Regions from separate parts of the Homo sapiens genome. Here all the other regions are linked to region 1. Evidence: promoter capture Hi-C in 16 types of primary human blood cells and fetal thymus (Javierre and others, 2016). All regions are on one chromosome and are shown on one strand. Each heading gives the region's core, a stretch centred on a gene start or on the middle of the fragment in contact. The rest is flanking DNA. Distances are from core to core; before and after follow the strand shown.

Region 1 (4,529 bases), core at 1,164-3,663:
GTTCCAGAACTGACAACTAGAGCCTAAATAAATACCTGGACAAGGGTAAATATGACCTCAAATTTATAACCGCCCTGAACGCAGAACATCAACCGCGACAGCTGTGGCATCAGCGGCGACAGTAATTTTCTCCCTGGCATTCAACCAGAGGGCAGTTGGACTGTGCACCGACTGCACTAGTGGTGGGTAGCCAAAGCTAGCCTCCAAAGTGAACCACGGTCTGGGGCCTGGTCCCGTTTGACCGAAAATGCTATCCAGAACCCCCACCGAGCTGCAGGCCCTTCTTCCTGATTGAGCTAGAGGTGAGTGAAGACAGGGTCTGGGGTAGGGAGGGGCGTCCACGCCAGCTTGCCCATTACCTGCCGGCCTTGGTGATGATCATCTCAGTGCCTATCTCATGAAAGCGCTTCCAGAGCTCGGCTCCCTGCAGATCCACCCGCGGGGCCTGCGGCGAGGGCAGAGGGGTCCCGGGCCGGGCCAGGGAGCGCGCCGGAGACCCCTTGGGGGAGCCTCCCGGTGACGCCAGAGGGGAAGCTCCCTGCTGGAAGCCGTCCTCACAGCCGCCTGGACAGCAAAGGACAGAGAAAGGGAACTGGTGAGGGAAACAGAGGGGAAGCCAGCCGCGGAGACGGGCCCACCTGGTGGCTGAGAAGAGGAAAATGACCGGGAGAAAAGGGGAAGCTTTGGTGCCATCAGGTCCTCCTAAAGAACAAGCCAGTCGATAGACACCCACATTCTGCCTGTCGAAGGGGCGCATTCAGAGCTCCAGTGTGGCCTGCTTGGTCCCCAAGTCCCAAGCCCGGGAGAGGCGCGCGGGCAGCGTCCACCCCACCCGCTGGGCCTCCGCAGGGCCAAGGCCCCAGCAGAAAAGGCTTCACGCCGCCGCCGGGGTCTGGGACGCTTGCCCGACGGAGTCAGAGGAGCTCCCGGGTCCAGAGTCCCCAGTGCAAACTCCGACGCAACCTGCGCCTCGAAGCGCAAGCAGCAAAAGCGCCCGGACTCTGGTCCCAAGAGCCTGGGCCTCCTTAAGCCATAAGCGTCTGCGGCGCCTCGCTTTGGGCCTTCTTTTGGGCCGGGCCGGAGGCATCTTCTAGAAGGCTCTTCAGACCCCGCTTTCGCCAAACTCCCGGCGCCCTGCGCTTCCAGCCCAGCAGAGAAAAGTGTGAAAAGCAAGCCCGCGGTCGCCGTCGGCCTTGGCAGAGAAATCAAGAGGAGAAGGGAAGGGAACCGCTCAACTACCCTTCGGGAAACCAAGTTTCCAAATATGCCGCCCTCTTCCTGGTTTGCACAAACGGTTTAGGGCATTCGTTCCGGTTTCAGGGTGGGGTATGCCGTCGCTCCCCTCCTCCCCGCCCTGTGCTTTTAAAAGTTAGGAAACAAAAAAGAGCACCCATTGGCTGGAACCCCAAGGGAGGCAGATGCAGGAAGCACAGAGCTGCACCGCTAGGCGCAGCAAACAGCCGCGGCCGAAGGCGCGGGTCGCCGAGTGGGCGGCGGCCGCCCGCGAGGCGAGCCTGGAAGCAGTATCTGAACCGTCTGGAGGGTGACCAGGTTGCGCGGCGAGCTTTGCGACTGACACGGCCAATGCGCTAGTGGCTGAGTGGCCTTGGCCATGTAGGGACGCGGCGCGCACGCACACCCACAGACTCGCAGAAGTTCAGGTTCGCGCCGGAGAGAAGTTATAGGCAGGAAGGGGCCCACTCACCCGCGGCTCCGCGCTCCAGGTCTGCGCCACTCCGAGCCGGCCCAGACGTCGCCCCAGCCGGCGGCGGGAGCGCAGCGCCTTCGTCTCCCTCAGAAGAACCCTTTTCGCCCGCGCCGCCGCCGCGGCTGCAGCCTCCGTCGTCCACGGCCCCCGCCGCCTCTTCGGCGCCCAGTTTTCGCCGCTTCTTCTGAAGCTGTTGCTGCTTCTCGGCGCCGATCAGCGCCTCCACCGAGAAAGCGTGCGCCTTGAGGCTTAGCATGCTGCACGGCGAGCCCCTTCGCTTCTCGGCCATCCCCCCCGCCCCGCGCCCGCCCGCCCCTCTCTCATATACACTCACGCGGGCACACGCGCGCTCTCGCTCTTCCCCCACCAAAAACTAAAAGGCTCTCGGGGCCTCCCGAGATCTGCCCCCTTCCCCACCGCGGGCAAAAAACAGATTTGGCGTTTCCGCTTTCTCGCTTGTGTTGGGATCCAGGAACCGGCGACGCGCCGGCCAAGTCTCCTTTCCTGGGTCTCTCTCGCGCGCTCTCTCACTGATGCACTCCTTTGCTCCCACCCCTTCCACCTCCTCCTGCTGCTCCGAGGTCTGCCTCAACTGATGCGCCAGAGAGGACTAACATGGGTAAAAAACACTCTGTGGACACAAATTAGGGATTGTAATTGAAATTTGTTGCCTTGATCTGTCAGCACTTCCAGGCAGGAGAGCGGTGGGAAGAACTTGCTCATTAGTGTCAATAAAGCGGCGGGGGCGGAGCCCGGGTCCCTGTCCATCACCCAGACGGCCGGCCAATCAGGAGGCGCCGACTCCGCGCAGCCCGCGCCCACTTCCTTACAAGGTAGCGAAAAACCAGGAGTGAAAAGCGCCGCTGTCTGGCTTGGATGTGCCAGCCACACGGACGCTGAACTCTGTCTCTCTGACGTCCGTAGCTGAGTCCAGCCCCGTAGTCTCCAGCTTTCCTCACCAGGACCTGGAAAGGCGGAAGTTCCCGGCTTTAAACTAGACGTTCAACAAGTTAGAAAATCAGGAATCTTTCAAGGTTCCGTAAATTGCCGTCCCACTTCCGTATCGCTTAATGTTGCTACAACTCAGAATATTGGGAAGCTGGGAAGAATTCGCAGGCCCCTCCTTTCTCATTTAAATGTTCCTGCACTCAGTCTGCGCCAGATATGGCTTAGGCTTATTTAAACTTTACTCCGTGATTTTTTTCTTAGGGGATACCAGGTTAAGAAATATGTAAATCCTTTAGGAGTGCAAAATGTTACGTTAACGCTCAGTCCGTCATATAAATGTCAGAAAAAGCACGCCCTTTCCGCAGCCCACCTTTTCTTTCAAAGAGTGGTAGTTATTTTAAAACGTAGGTCATGGGATTTTCATTCTGTACGTCTTTAACGATATGGACAACTTTAAAACCCCTTAAAACTTCGCAAAATGAAATAAGTATGAAGACGCAATAAAATTCCCCATTTGAAAAACTTCTCTGTGATTTAAGTAAGTTTATATTTGTCCTACTGTTGACAATTTACAATCGTTACTTCAGGCTTTTAAGGAGTCCATTGATGTATTTAAAACAAATTTAATAAAATCAGTGCTTTTTAATTAAATGACACCAAACATATATATTTGTACAATTTGTTTTGTAGTTTCAACTCGACTTTTTGTTAGGATTAACAAATATATATATATATGTTTGGTATAAATAGAGCAAATCTCTTGTGGAATAAAATTAATCGTGCATATTACTCCATCTTTTGTATAAAATACACGGCAGGCCGGGCGCGGTGGCTCACGCCTGTATTCCCAGCACTTTGAGAGGCCTACGCGGGCGGATCACGAGGTCAAGAGATCGAGACCATCCTGGCCAACATGGTGAAACCCCCGTCTCTACTAAATAAATAAATAAATACAAATAGTAGCTGGGCGTGGTGGTGCACGCCTGTAGTCCCAGCTACTCGGGAGGCTGAGGCAGGAGAATCGCTTGAACTCGGGAGGCGGAGGTTGCAGTGAGCCCAGATCGCGCTACTGTACTCCAGCCTGGCGACGCAGCAAGACTCCGTCTCTGTCTCTCTCTCTGTCTCCATATGTGTGTGTGTGTATATATATATATATATATATGACAAAGGAATTTTTTCCTCTCCCTCGTCCCTCGTTTAATTCAATCTCCGCAACCGTTGGCTGCCCTTTTATCTCTGACTTCTCTGTAAACTTTCAGTAGAGTAGCATTTGGGGGTAGATCCGCCACTGAGACTGATCCTTTTATTGTAGAAGAGAACGCGCGGTTCCTGGAGGCCGGACACCACAGCGGGAGTAGGAACCTGGCAGGCGATGAGCAGAGGCACGAGCAAGCCGCCCAGCCAAACCTGGCAGCCTTGAGGTCAAAAATGATTTTGTAATATCCTTGCGGAGGAAGCCTCTTTTAGACGCCTGAGAAACAAACTCAGTTGGGAGGAGGTGTTTTGCATTTTACAAAATGAAGGCTTTGCGACCGGTTTAGAGCTGTGTGGTCCCTAGTGGGTCTCCAAGCTCCGGGGTACCCTAGGCCGGTATTACATCATTAAAAAGAAGCGCAAATCCCATTTCTGAAGCTTAGCCGAAGGCAGGCGCCGGCAGGGAGAGCTAAGAGGCCGCCTAGAGAGTTTGGGCCGGGAGTGGGAGTGGGACAAGGCGGGAGCTAACTTAGCTGGAGTAGACGCCAGAAGAAGTTCCGTTCAGCTGAGGTGCCCCGCCCCAATCCCAGGCTCTCGGGGACCCCAAGAAGGGAGCTACCCGGTGCTTCTCCGAGCGGTCCTTACAGCTTTGGAGACTCTGCTGCTGCCCAGGGGTGTA
Region 2 (4,529 bases), core at 1,289-3,788, 340 kb before region 1:
GAGAGGTAGACAGTTTTCACGGCTATTTTATAGATAAGGAAGCTGAGATACAGAAAGTCGAGTGGTAGATCCCAAATATTAGAAGGTGAGCTAGAAGTACAATTCAAGTTTTGAATTGTACTTGAATTGAGACATCAAGCCCAGATCTAGTAATTTTAGAGACCACTAAACAAGCACAGATGTGACAGTTTCCTAAGGCTTGGGGAATCTTCATAACAGCAACAGTGTATGAATTTTAACATCCTTCTTCTAGGTATCTAATTCCAACTGTATACTTGAATGTGTATGAACAGAGAACCATTCACACAAACCGCATTTAAAAATTATTTTAAAGATGAAGCATATTGGCCTTAAGATTGAGATGGGGGACTCGAACCAGGATGTGTTTAGACTTATTGGATCCAAGTCAAGGTGGCCAGTTAACATTCTGGAAGCTTCACGTTCTCAGTTTTATGCCACTCAGCATGGCTCTGGTCAAGCCAGTTGTACCACGACTAGCTCTGCCTCTGGAACAAGCTGTTCAATCTCTCTTAGCCTTAGCTTCCTCATCTCTAAAATGGGGATAATAATACCTCCCTCATAGGGATTTTTGTGAAGATTAAATGTGATAATACGAATAAAGCCATTGAACAATGTATTAGATTTTTAGGGCTGCCATAACATTATCTCAAACTGAGTGACTTAAAACAACATAAATTTATTCTCTCACCATTCTGAGGCCAAGTCCAAAACGAAGATATGTATGGGCTGCACTCCCTCCAGAGGCTCTCAGGGAGAGCCTTTCTTTGCCTCCTCCAGCGTTTGCTGGTTTCAGGTGTCCCTTGGTTTGTGACTGATTAATGCCAATCTCTGTCTCTTGAAATGGCCTTCTCCTCAGTCTCCATCCCAAATCTCCCTCTATCTTCCACTTTTAAGGACACTTGTCTTTGAATTTAGGACCCTCGCGAAAGTTTAGGATCATCTCATCTTGAGATCCATAATTCAATCACACCTACAAAACTCTTTTTTTTTTTCCCAAATAAGGTCATATTCACAGGTTCTGAGGAGTAAGACATAAACATATCTTTTTTGGGGGAGGGGGTTGTCACAATTTAACCCAGAGCCTGGGAACAAACCCCTGCACCTTCTACCTCTATTGTCCTTGATTCAGACCATAAAATGTGGTCAATTTTGCAGTGATTAGCTCAGCAGTTCCCAATCCTGACTGTACATTAGGATCACCTGGGGTGTCTTTGAACCTCTCAGTACCCACCTGGGCTGCATTATAGACCAATTAGATCAGAATCTCTGAGAGTGGAACACAAAAATTGGTATGTTTTAAAGTTCCCCAGGTGATTCCAATGCACAGTCAAGGTTAGGAACTGTGGTACAAGGGCTCAATTGAAGGCCAGTCCATAGAAGTCCTGGGTTTTCTGGATTAAACAAGAATCTTTGGGTTTTACCTGTTCAATGTACCAAGACTTTTGGGGTACAGAAACAGAAATTTATTGTTTTATCAGCACACCTATGCAAATCATGGTCCTTGACTTCTGCACACCATTTTTGCTTGTGCTGTATGCTAACTCTCATTATCTGTAGGAGTGAAATTTAGTAGAAGGATTTAAGGCAGGACTAGATAGGAAATTTAGGAGACAAGCTCCAATTTCAGTGACATTGTTGATCCCAGAGGACTCTGTCTAGTGGGGCTTGATATGGATATAATATTTTGTTTCCAAATCTAAATCAAGCTAAGGCTCTGGGGCAGTACAAGAGACTGTGTAGTGCTGGAAAAATTCTTTTCTGACATTCCTAGGCATACCTTGCAAATAAAAACATCATACAATTCTTTTGCAGGAGGCTTTAGTGTGTTTACTAGAGTAGGTGATGTTTGTTGGGTTAGTCTGTCCAAGGTGTTGGCAAATTCTTTCAGTAGTTTTCTTTTAACACTGTTCCAGTCGCTGACCTTCTGCATGGATTATAGGTTTCTTTTTGAAGCAAAACTCCAGAAGAGACTTGGGAAGGAAACTTGCTCTTGTGCCACCTGACTCAGGAGGCCAGCATGTATCACAATCAAACACCACCACTATTCAAAGCTGCAGCACAATAGGTCCCCTGCACGTTAGGTTCAAAGTACTTTTCTACCTGGCGTGGCTATTCAGTCATCAAGTGGCAGATCCTCAAGAGGTCCCATTACTGATCCCTTCTGTACTGATAGCCTCACCTATGTCCCCTTTGAAAACATGATCCCAGAAACCAGCCTAAGACCTTCTTTTACAATAAAGAATGCACAGTTGATAAAGCAGATGAGGATGCCCATCTGAGGGCATCTTTCAAAACACAGTGTTAGGTCGAAGCAATAAAGCTCCAAATTATAACACTTGGGCATTAGCCTGATTTTGAGACATATTTTGAGATAACAGAATGATGGGTCTAATGCTTTGAAATTAAACAACATTTGTCCACCCACTTTTCCTACATATTAGCCTAGACTCAGGGCAGGCATTTTCAGAGCATCCATAGAATGCACTGGTTATTAGCTATCCACATGCACTCCATCATCTACAGCTTAAGAATCTCACAGGGTAAACTGGAATTAAGAGCACTGAAGTCTTCTTAGGAAAGGGATGTGGGTCTTGGGAAACTTGAGTCTTTTGGATAGGAAAAAGGTGGGAGTACATGATGACGTCTCTACAAATTACACCTTGGAGGAGACAGATTTCTCCTTCCAAGTGGCATTGAAAGGTCAGCAGATAACATGCAGAATAATTCGGTTTATACTTACCTGGGTAGTAATACTATATTTTAAAAACAACAACAAGAAGAAGAACAAGAGAAGGAATGTCACAGAAGTCAGGATAAAGGTTACTGTAGAGAAGAAGGGGCAGTAGAGAACTTCCAAAGTGGAGAGATGTCTTCTTTCTTAATCAGATGGTTACATGTGAGTTTATTTTATTATTATTCTTTACACAGTAAATACTTCCCTGTGTATGCTATATTCTGCAGTTTTTAAAAAGATAGCAGTGTTAAATTGGACTATAAAGTATAAAAAAGACTTTTTTTCACTTATTTCATATCTTTTATTTCGACAATGTGCTTGATTGGTACACTTATAAAACATTTGTTAAACGACAGTTCCATTAACATGTAATATCTTTTAAGATAAAAAGTTTTCATAATAATAAGGGAAATTCTCTTGAGGGGTGAGGACAGAGCAGAGCAAACAATGGCTCTGCTCATTAAAAATACTTTCTTCATACCATCACCATTCCTGAAAAAGAGAAATCCTGAGATAAGTAAAGTGGCAGTTCTGTTGACATAAAAGAAGTCGTTAGAAGGGAGGGTGGGACGGGCAGAAAACTGCCATGTAACTACTCTTCCTATCCACTTTTCCAAGTGCTTTCCTGGGAAGTTTTCCACTGTTTGACTTTTTATTTTCTTTACGGAATTTATATCTCCTCACCTAATGTTGCTGGTTTTCACCCCAATTATACCTGTAAAAGCCATTTGTGAAGTCACCTGGAAGATTTTTGACAGAAAGGGGGTGTGTAGATCTGGAAATGCTAGATGGGGCCCCTGCATCTGACTCCTTGTCCCAATTCTTTTCCTTGGGAATTGCCTGAAGAAATGCCTCTACTGGGGCTTGTTACATTTGTAAATGAATTTTTTTCCATTGTGTGTGGGAGTCTTGAGAACTTACTAATATTGAAACAGGTAACAACAATTTAAACATTTTTAAAAGTTGATGCAAACAAATAGCCTTAAGAGTTAACATTATTAACACATTTCTATTCCGCTAATGTGGTATGAAACTGACACACAGAATTTTCAATTGTATTATTCCATGTTACCCTAAAAAACAATTTTGGAATGAACTCAAGAAAGGTAATGTTCTTTTTACTTTAGATAAAAGAAATCACTGGGATAAAAATGGAAGGGATGTATAGCTGTTATAAAAGAAAGGTATTTAAGTCAAGCAAGAATTTAATTGCCATTTCACAGTGCCTTGCTTTTGTTCCTAATTTTCTAATCCTGTTCTGTACTGTTCCTTATTTTCTAATTTTCTAAGCTGATAACGACCCACACGTGCAAATTCTGGTTTAACACCCCAGAAAGTTTAATTGCATTTATTCTTGTTTACTGGTTTTGGCAATTTTAGCCAATCTTATGATCTTTTGCAAAGTAACAACGTAGAGACAGTATGAATGCTGATGGTAGATGTTGAAGCTGATAATTAAACCAGACTTTTTGTGAGAGGGAATTTTGTAGCCCAGGCTCACAAGCTCACAGACTTTCCTTGTTGTGAGATTATTTATTTACTCAGATCCCCACACATTTTGTGTTTTATCCTGGGGTTGGGCGGAGGCAGGCGTGGGGAAGCCTTTTCTAAAAGTCAGAGTACGAAATACTCAAAGGGATTCCTAAATTCAGCAATTACTCAACCACTGGTGCAGAGAAGGTAAGTTATTTAGAGTTGTTGATGTTTTAAATAAGCCGAGTGAAGGAAGCTCTTCAGGCGGACAAAGCGGAGAATATTGGGCCAAAGGGCCGAG
Region 3 (4,529 bases), core at 762-3,261, 330 kb before region 1:
TTCTATGCCAGTAAGAGCCCCTGTAAAGGAAGGATTGTTAAGAATTACAAGCACAGAGGCAGTGCCTTAAAGAACAAAGAAGACATATTTTACTTCAAGAAGAATAAAATGGATTTTCACAGTCATTTGCCAAGATTTCCCTCCTTTCCCAGGTGGAAATAGGATGGCGGTGGAGAAAACATACCCCAACATTTGAGGGGAAATGCAGCCCAGGAGTTTTCCTTGGTTGGGCATTCTTTTTTTTTAGAAATGCAAAGATATTCACTTCCTAATTTTTCTGCCACTGTCATTAATGTTTGGAATCCTATTTTCTTTTAAGTTTCTCCAATTGAGAGGATAAATCACATTTTCTCTTTGTATATCATCCTGAAAGTCAAGTTTAGTCAAAGGTAAGGAAAGAACTTTGATTCATTTGTGCAAGCAAGATAGGTTTACACAAAATATTTCATGGAATTTTAAAATTATTGGTTTATCTTTCATTTTTCAGAATTATACAATCTTTCTTTAAAAGTTGTTGAATAGAAAATGGCCATGTATTTGTGAAAAGTTATATGAACAAATCTATTCCAAAAAATAACTATTAATTCCAAATTTAAACATATAATTTGTTTTTATTTTTACATTTGCAAATCACATAAAATAATAGTGGTCCTTAGTATAGTGCAGTGGTTAAGAGACTGAAAGCAGATGGTCTGGGTTCAAATCCTAGTCCTGCCACTTTTCAGTTGCTTTGTTTTGGACAGATTATTCAACCTTTCTGTGTCTCATGTTCCTTTTCTGAAAAAGAAGCTAGTAACAGTCCCTCCCCTACACGGTTGATTTAAGGATTAAATCAGTTAACCCAGGTTAATATCTTAGAACAATGGCTCACACAAAGTAATTTTCTGTCATTGTACATTGCTATTAGTAGTTATTGGTAGTTCTTCTTACAGCATTTATCAATCTGGTTGCATGGATTATATAGGTCAAGGGCATATATATATATATATATATATATATATATATATATATATATATATATATATATATGTCTGGCAAAAGAAAATTTCTGATCCAAGATGCATTTACTGAATACCAAGTATGTGTTCATCACTGTGAGACAGAGAGACAAATAACTTTCTTATTTAGAAATTAAAACAAGCTTTAGGTAGCTATAGATTTCCTGAATAATAGCAAATAAGGAAATAAAAATCCAAGAAGCAGAGCAAATGATAAAAATGTGTCTTTGTACACTTCTCAAAAGAAGATATTTATGTGGCCAAGAAATATGTAAAAAAGCTCATCATCACTGGTCATTAGAGAAATGCAAATCAAAACCACAATGAGATACCATCTCACGCCAGTTAGAATGGTGATTATTAAAAAGTGAGGAAACGACAGATGCTGGAGAGGATGTGGAGAAATAGGAATGCTTTTACACTGTTGGTGGGAGTGTAAATTAGTTCAATCATTGTGGAAGACAGTGTGGAGATTCCTCAAGGATATAGAACTAGAAATACCATTTGACCCAGCAATCCCATTATTGGGTATATACCCTAGGGATTATGAATCATGCTGCTATAAAGACACATGCACATGTATGTTTATTGCGGCACTATTTACAACAGCAAAGACTTGGAACCAAGCCAAATGCCCATCAATGATAGACTGGATAAAGAAACTGTGGCACATATATACCATGGAATACTATGCAGCCATAAAAAAGAATGAGTTCATGTCCTTTGCAGGGACATGGATGAAGCTGGAAGCCATCATTCTCAGCAAACTAACACAGGAACAGAAAACCAAACACCACTTGTTCTTACTTATAAGTGAGAGTTGAATAATGAGAACACATGGACACAGGGAGGGGAACATCACACACCGAGGCCTGTCAGGGGGTGGGGGCCAAGGGGAGGGAGAGCATTAGGATAAACACCTAATGCATGTAGGGCTTAAAACATAGATGATGGGTTGACAGGTGCAGCAAACTACCATGGCACATGTATACCTATGTAACAAACCTGCACATTCTGCGCACATATCCCAGAACTTAAAGTAAAATAAAAAAAAAAGGAAAAAAAAAGTGTCTTTGTAGACCAAAAACAAGAAAGCAACTAAATTATCCTGAAGAGTGAAAGAAATGAAACAAATACTGTGCTCATAACACTATCATTGGTTAGGCTAATAATATGAGCAAAAGCAGCACTTTAATTGGTAATAGGAGAAGTGAGCTATTTCGAAGAAATGCAAAAAGGCAAAGTGATAGAACAATATTCAGCAGAGAAATTTTTTTTTGAGGAGGGGGAAAGGGCTCTGTAGATAGAGAGCTTCATTTGGACAGACTTCTTTGGCTTGAGTTTAGAACTCTTCCTGCCATCTTTGACATATTTCAGATTTAACTGTCAGCCCTAAGCACTGCCCCTCTTGGTACAGGACTCTCCCTGACTCACCCATGCCTGTCTTTTAAGGAGGGGGACATCCCTAATGGAGTAGAAGCCGGGCTGCTAGTAGGTGGACTTGCTAATGGAAACTACTGTTTAGTGAGCAGAGTAGCAGAGAGCCAGTGGCAAAGAGAAGAGAAAGCAGCTTCCTTGGTTATAGAGAAGCACTGTGGGGTCCCATTTCAGGTTTCCATTTGTTCATCACTTTGTACCATATCATTTGCATTTGTTGAGCCTCAGTTTTCTCATACGTAAGATGTATATATTTAATCAAGAATCCTAAACTATTCAGCGTTCCCATTTCTGAAAATCCATCTTTAGAAATCAATTATCATATCAATGGCTGGCCTCTAGTCACTAAGGAAAGTCTAAGTATCTTCTGTTCATTTATGTTACAAATAATAACTGAATGCTGGCTGACTCCCAAGAATGTTACCAAAACTATCTGTGGAGAAGAGAAAGCTTAGTTTATTGCTAACCATGTTAGGATAGCAGTATGTAAGGCTCACTAGCATCTCAGAGAGATGGAGTCTCCTGTCACCCAGGCTGGAGTGCAGTGGCGCAATCTTGGCTTACTGCAACCTCCACCTCCTGGGTTCAAGCGATTCTCCTACCTCAGCCCCCTGAGTAGCTGGGATTACAGGTGCCCGCCATGACGCCTGGCTAATTTTTGTATTTTTAATAGAGACGGGGTTTTGCCATGTTGGCCAGGCTGGTCTCGAACTCTGACCTCAAGTGATCCACCCGCCTCAGCCTCCCAAAGTGCTGGGATTACAGGTGTGAGACACTGCGCCTGGCCAAAGTTGAAATCTTTATAGACTTTTTGAAGTCAGATTTAAGGTGAAGCTTTCAGTGTGGGAGGTGGAGGTTTGTTAGTACTGGATAAGGATTATAATATAGGCTTGGTGGATAGAGCAAGGAGAGGATTTTGAACCAAGAGGTTCAAACTGACAATTTGCCAGTCTTCCAGAGGTTTCTTACTGGAGCTATCACCATAGGCTCTTGATCCAATACCTACCTCTCCCTCTCAATGGCTGACCTGATTTTCTACTTTACTGGGACCAGGTCATCACTAGGCATATGTTCTTTAAATATTTTTTCTTCAACAAAAAGTCCTTGATTTCATCTATTCTTTCCTCTGCTCTTAGAGAAGAATGCATTCCTCCTTTTAAAACCCTATCTATACTATAGTCTTGTTCTTGTCCTCATAGCCATTCATCTATTACTTATCAGTTCCTATCATTCATCTATTACTTACCAGTTATCAAGTAATAGCCATTCATCTATTATTTATCAGTTTTTCCTCACATGCTAACCATCTCACTTCTCACTGATTCCTTTCCCTTGGCCCTCAAACATAATTATGTGTCTTTAAGTACAAAATAATATCTACTAGGTCTGTGGGCTTCTAGCCATGGTTTCCTGTTCTTCTCTTCTGTATGGGTTTCTATCCCTTGCTTCCTTGAAAACTCCTGACAGACCAGGAAAAAAGCAGTCTGTCTTGAACCTCCAAATCCCTCTGAATGTAACATCCTCTCACTCCGCATTTCTTCTGTTCTCCACCAAGACCGTAGAAAATATAGCAAATGCTGCTTGTCTCCACTTTCTCATTCCCATTTACTTTGAATTTCATTGTAATCTAGATGCCTTGGAAAGGCTACAAATGATTTTCTAAGTGCCTATTTCAAGGGATAGTTTAAATTCCTAATCTTTGTGGCATTTGATACTGGTGATCACTCTCTTTTCATTGAAAAGCATATTTCTTTAGCTTCTGACATTACTCCTTCTTAGTTCTGACTTCTGAAACCTCTTTCTCTCTCAGATTGATTCTTCCTCCCACATCTGCTCTTTAACTGTTAACTGTTGTTTGAACTTTTGTCCTTGTTTCCTTTTATCATACTATCTGGTCCCAGAGTAACTTCATCCCTAGGCATGACTTCCATTATCATGTATCCATGAATAATCCCCTAAATCTAAAGTTTCAAGCATGGCCTTCTCCTTAGTTTCTAATACTGAAACACTCAGTTATCTTGGATCTAAAGTACTATTTCCAAAATGAATTTATTATCTTTTTAATGAAAGCTCTTCCTTCTCTTCTATCCTTGG
Region 4 (4,529 bases), core at 1,506-4,005, 270 kb before region 1:
TAAAAGGGATAAATGAGAACTAAGAAAGTGCTTGGCACTGCCTGACAAATATTAAGTGCTTGCAAACTTTAGTTGTTGGTATTACCATTAATAGGAATAGATGATTATGTCATTAAGAATGGCAGAAAAATCTAAATTTTCTCTCTCTCTTTTTTTTTTTTTTTTTGAGACAGAGTCTCTGTCACCCAGACTGGAGTGCAATGGTGAGATATTGGCTCACTGCAACCTCTACCTCCTGGGTTCAAGCGATTCTCCTGCCTCAGCCTACCAAGTAGTTGGGATTACAGGCACCGACCACCATGCCTGGCTTATTTTTATATTTTTAGTAGAGATGGGGTTTCACCATGTTGGTCAGGCTGGTCTCGAACTCCTGACCTCAGGTGATCCACCTACCTCGGCCTCCCAAAGTGCTGGGATTACAGGTGTGAGCCACTGCATCCAGCCCTAAATTTTCTCTAGACGAGATAATTAAGAGTGTTTGACTGATAATGTGGGTCTCTGGAAGAGTAACCAGTTCCTGTGCCAAGTGGAACGAGAAGAAAAACATGATGTGCCACGCAGGCTATACTTGTCCAATGCTGATCCCAGCTTGCATTACACAGGTGAAGAAAAACTCATTGCTAAACAAATTAAACCCTAATTCTACACCCCTGGTGAAAGCCACAGAGAGTTGAACTTGTGAAAAGCAGCTTGATTACAAAGTAATGCCTTCTTTTCTGAAAATCTGTCGTGACTTTCAGTCAGGACTCATGGGGAAGACCCCTGATTTATTTCTCTTTCAAGAGCATCCATAACAGCCTGGCCCCTCAATGAACTCTGCTTTCAGCTGTCCTGAAGGGTGACGGCATGTCTCTCTGAGGTCTATCCACAGGGAAATTCCTCATGGGGTACACAGTCTAGATTTTAAATCAGAGCAGCTCAAACATACCATCTAAATTCAGTGCAAATTTCTCCAGCTACTTTCAGTACATTCCAAAGTTTAATACTATTTATTTATATTTAAAAAAGGCTTTTGTTTTTATTTAATATGACAGACAACAAGGACACTGCTGTGGAAGAAACTTCCATGTATATGTCTGAGGCTCCAGGAGTCCAGATGAATGTACTCAGAGAGTCAGTCCTCCTAAATTAGAGCAAAAGCTGAACAACCAGGCTGAAAAAATGGCCGTGTGTGTGTGTGTGTGTGTGTGTGTGTGTGTGTGTGTGCAAAGAAGGCGAAGAAGAAAATCTTGGCAGGAGAAAAATAGAAGGTAGGCCAGTCAGAAAGAGCTTCCTGAATGACTAGAGAGGAAAGAATCTGGATGGAGAAGCAGAAGCAGAAAAATTTAGGCTACTGGCAGTCATCTGCACAACAAGACTTCCCTCTGTTCTTCACATAATTGCTCTCCGCATGTAGGTAAAGTCACAGACATGGAGAAATCATTTTTCTGCATTCAGCACAACTCCCTTAAAGGTTTGTGACCACTGATGCTATTCCCAAGAAGGTCAAGGAAATTATGGGTGAAATCACTTTCCTCCAGCATCAGCTTCCTCAAGAAGGAAGTGCCAAAGTTTTTACTCTGGCAGAGAAACTCGTATTTCATAACATGGCCTTTATGCGGGAGTTTCTCTACCACTGTGATTATTAATATGTCTGTTTCATCTAAGGCTTAAAATTAGAACAACAGGCCTAATTAGGTTTGTTTACAATTCAGCATGTGTCAGCATGTGTAGGGCCCGAACAACACAGCATGTCCAACAGGAAGCGTGTGTGTGCAGGTCATCGCTGCTCTCCACCGAAATGGTCTCTCCGAGAGCGTCACCCATGGTGTGTTTGGACAGGAAAGCCCAGATAAATGAACACAGCATCAATGTTGCCAGTAATTCAGAAACGGAGATATCTGGAAGTGATAAAAACTGCAATTGATAAAAGCTTCTCTTGTTAAATTTAGGCCACACATACTCTACATAAAATATAGCACTTAGGAAATGATGTGTGTTGATAAAACCTGATGGAGTTGTTTTTCCAAATGTCTTCTCCCTGCTGGGAATTTCCCACTTCGGCAGGCTCTCTCGGGCCTCCCCAGTTGCTAGTCTCCTTCCATGACCTGACCTGGTGTTGTTTATATGGCTGTTTGCACATTTCTTAACAGCCTTTGCAAAGGGTCTTTAATGACTTTCACTCCTGGCAGCGCTTTGCTTCAGGCAGAGCTCCAAAGTCTGCCAGTGTTGTTGTGTTTATTTGTGCAGTGCCCTCCCCAGCTTCCCCTAACCCCCTCAGAGAGGGCCTGGAAAGCATGTTGCAGGTTAGATAGCTGTAGATGAGTTTTCAGACTTGGGCTGTAGCTGTTGGTAATGAAATATGGAAAGGCCATTTAAACAACTAGGAACTGTCCTCAGGTTCCCAGGCGGGCCCACTTAGAGTCCTGAACCTTAATATTTTAAGCCTGCTTGAAGAAGTAGCATTGTCAAGATCCCAACTCCAGTACTTACCAGTTGTGTGATGGAGAATAAGCTCACTATCTTTCTTGGGCTTTGGTTCCCTCATCTGCTAAATGAAGGGAGCAAAATAGATGACTGCCAAGGGCCAACCACCTCGAACAGGCTGAGCTCAGTGATTCCTACATAACCCTAAACAATGGGCTCACATTGGCTACACATTAGGAAAGATGGAAAATTTCCTTCTGCAGGTATCTTGAAGAATGACTAATATGATGGAAAAAGCATTGGACTCTGAGGCTAGATAGATATTTTAGAGTGTGAAGAAGATAATTAACAGTGAAATTATGTAATTCAAGCCATGAAAATGAAAATAAAATCTAGATTGTCCAGCATGATATTTTAACCTGGACTTCCCAGCTATCCCTTTCTACTTTGTGGAGATTATCGTAAAATATTGGGGAAGCCAAGAATTCACCATGAAACAAATGAGGCAGAGAAAGGCTAAGAAAGATATATTTGCATTCTACTTTTTCAAGAAAGACCAAGAATGTCTGAGTAGGCAGAGCAAGAATGGTAAAAAGAGGAGCCAGGGGTATGACAGGCCAGGTTCTATAAGAACATAACAGATGGGTGCTATAACTTCTGCAGCATTCTCACAGGACGACCAGGGCACTGCTGAAATCAACTGCATCCACACTAGCGAAATTCTGATACCAAAGGACACATCCTGCCTAGAAATAAAAATAAAGATATCAAAACAAGCATCATTTGTCCTTAAAGCAGGGTCAAAGTCTTCTGATTTTGAAGTAAGAGTAAGACATGTTGGAATCAGATGACATTTCAAAACACTGGTTATTGTGGGAAATGGATTTATGTATTTGAAAATTTCAGAACTGTTCAAAACAAACTAATGTAAATGTGAAAGTCTTTCCAGTCCACATAGCCATTGCTAGGGGAATATCTCCTCTGACATTGTATTTCTAAAATCCTCATGTTCTCACAATAGATTACCTTGGTGTAAATTTCTTAGAATGATGATTTCAAAGTTGCTAGTGACATTCTTTTCTCATGAACTTACATTCAGTTCCAAGCACATGTTTATTAAATGTCTACTGTTGTATTAAGCCTGGGGACACCAAAATGAAAAAGGTAGGAGTACTGTACATCTCTGTCTCCAAAAGCTTAAAGTTGAGAGACAGGGAATGCTAGATAAGTTTGCAGTGAAACAAAACTATAAGAGAGTAAATGTATGCATGAGTTTTTTTCCTAGATGAACCTCTTTTTATATAAATTAGGAAACACATGATCAAGCACTCTGAATGCTGTGCCTTACCACATATACTTGGGCTCTTGGTCCACCTGAGAAATGAAAGTAGTTTCCTTTAAACATTTTTCTGGCTGGTGTTTTTTACAGTGTTACCCAGGTTGATGATTCTTCAGGTAATTGGGTCTTACAGTTCCTTAAACTCCTTTCTTCTAGTGATCTTGTCCCTACTCCACCTTAATCTCTGTGTCGTCACCAACCTTGTCATTACCAAAAACTGCAACCCCTTCCTAACTTCTCCCCAGAAGGATTTATCACTGTTACAGATCATTGACTGCTGCATATATTCCAGGTGTCCCCTTTCTTTTTCCAATTGGGAGTTTCATTGCAGGTTAATTGGCTTTGCCTTGCCATTGCATGTTGGAGGTATATTTGTGACTGGATGGGGTAGGGGTGACAGATACCATGTCTTTTTTTTTTCAGTGGCCTATGGTCTGCAAGGGGCCACATTCAGCTCTGATCAAGAGGACTGCACAGTGTACTGTAGGAGTGGAAGAAAAAGTAGAATGGATATGTATTTTAAACTTTGCTAATAAAGTAAGCTAGAAAAAGATCAGTTGTTCGGAGAAAAATAAAAATAAACCAGGAAATGGGGACTAGTTATGGGGGTGATGGAGTTGCTAAGTGACTAGAGAAGACTTTACTGAAATCAGGTAAAAAACATTAGAGAAAATACTGATATAGAATAATTCATGAGGCCTAACATTTGAAGAATGGGAGTTTCAGTAGAGGATTGACAAAATGGAGAAAAACTTGAGGTCACTCTCTTTATCTGTTTTCCCAG

The links. Contacts are between HindIII fragments. The CHiCAGO score rates a contact against its expected background, and 5 or more counts as called.
Region 2: a fragment that was not itself captured here is called in contact with the fragment with the promoter of TBX18 in region 1 in 1 of 17 cell types (endothelial precursors); the score reaches 19.2 in endothelial precursors.
Region 3: a fragment that was not itself captured here is called in contact with the fragment with the promoter of TBX18 in region 1 in 1 of 17 cell types (endothelial precursors); the score reaches 6.5 in endothelial precursors.
Region 4: a contact is called between a fragment that was not itself captured here and the fragment with the promoter of TBX18 in region 1, in 1 of 17 cell types (endothelial precursors). The highest score is 5.2, in endothelial precursors.

The regions. Positions count from the first base shown.
Region 1 is chr6:84,762,185-84,766,713 of GRCh38, forward strand. It overlaps TBX18 (T-box transcription factor 18), which reads right to left and starts at 2,414. Exons shown (of 8, transcript NM_001080508.3): 1 at 1,706-2,414; 2 at 360-564. The coding sequence starts at 1,997. It overlaps LOC124901353 (a long non-coding RNA gene), which reads left to right and starts at 157. Exons shown (of 2, transcript XR_007059666.1): 1 at 157-302. RefSeq lists enhancers at 1,147-1,731, 1,732-2,315, 2,327-2,621. The HindIII fragment of the contact is 3,607 bases long and covers 680-4,286 here.
Region 2 is chr6:84,417,996-84,422,524 of GRCh38, forward strand. It overlaps LINC01611 (long intergenic non-protein coding RNA 1611), which reads right to left. Exons shown (of 5, transcript NR_132100.1): 5 at 3,033-3,247. The region is part of intron 1 of LOC107986620 (a long non-coding RNA gene); the gene reads left to right. Among named protein-coding and RNA genes, the nearest start is that of LINC01611, 55 kb to the right of the region's middle. The HindIII fragment of the contact is 4,212 bases long and covers 433-4,529 here.
Region 3 is chr6:84,434,908-84,439,436 of GRCh38, forward strand. All of the region lies in intron 4 of LINC01611 (long intergenic non-protein coding RNA 1611), which reads right to left. All of the region lies in intron 1 of LOC107986620 (a long non-coding RNA gene), which reads left to right. Among named protein-coding and RNA genes, the nearest start is that of LINC01611, 38 kb to the right of the region's middle. The HindIII fragment of the contact is 1,744 bases long and covers 1,140-2,883 here.
Region 4 is chr6:84,490,899-84,495,427 of GRCh38, forward strand. The region is part of intron 2 of LOC107986620 (a long non-coding RNA gene); the gene reads left to right. Among named protein-coding and RNA genes, the nearest start is that of LINC01611, 18 kb to the left of the region's middle. The HindIII fragment of the contact is 1,690 bases long and covers 1,911-3,600 here.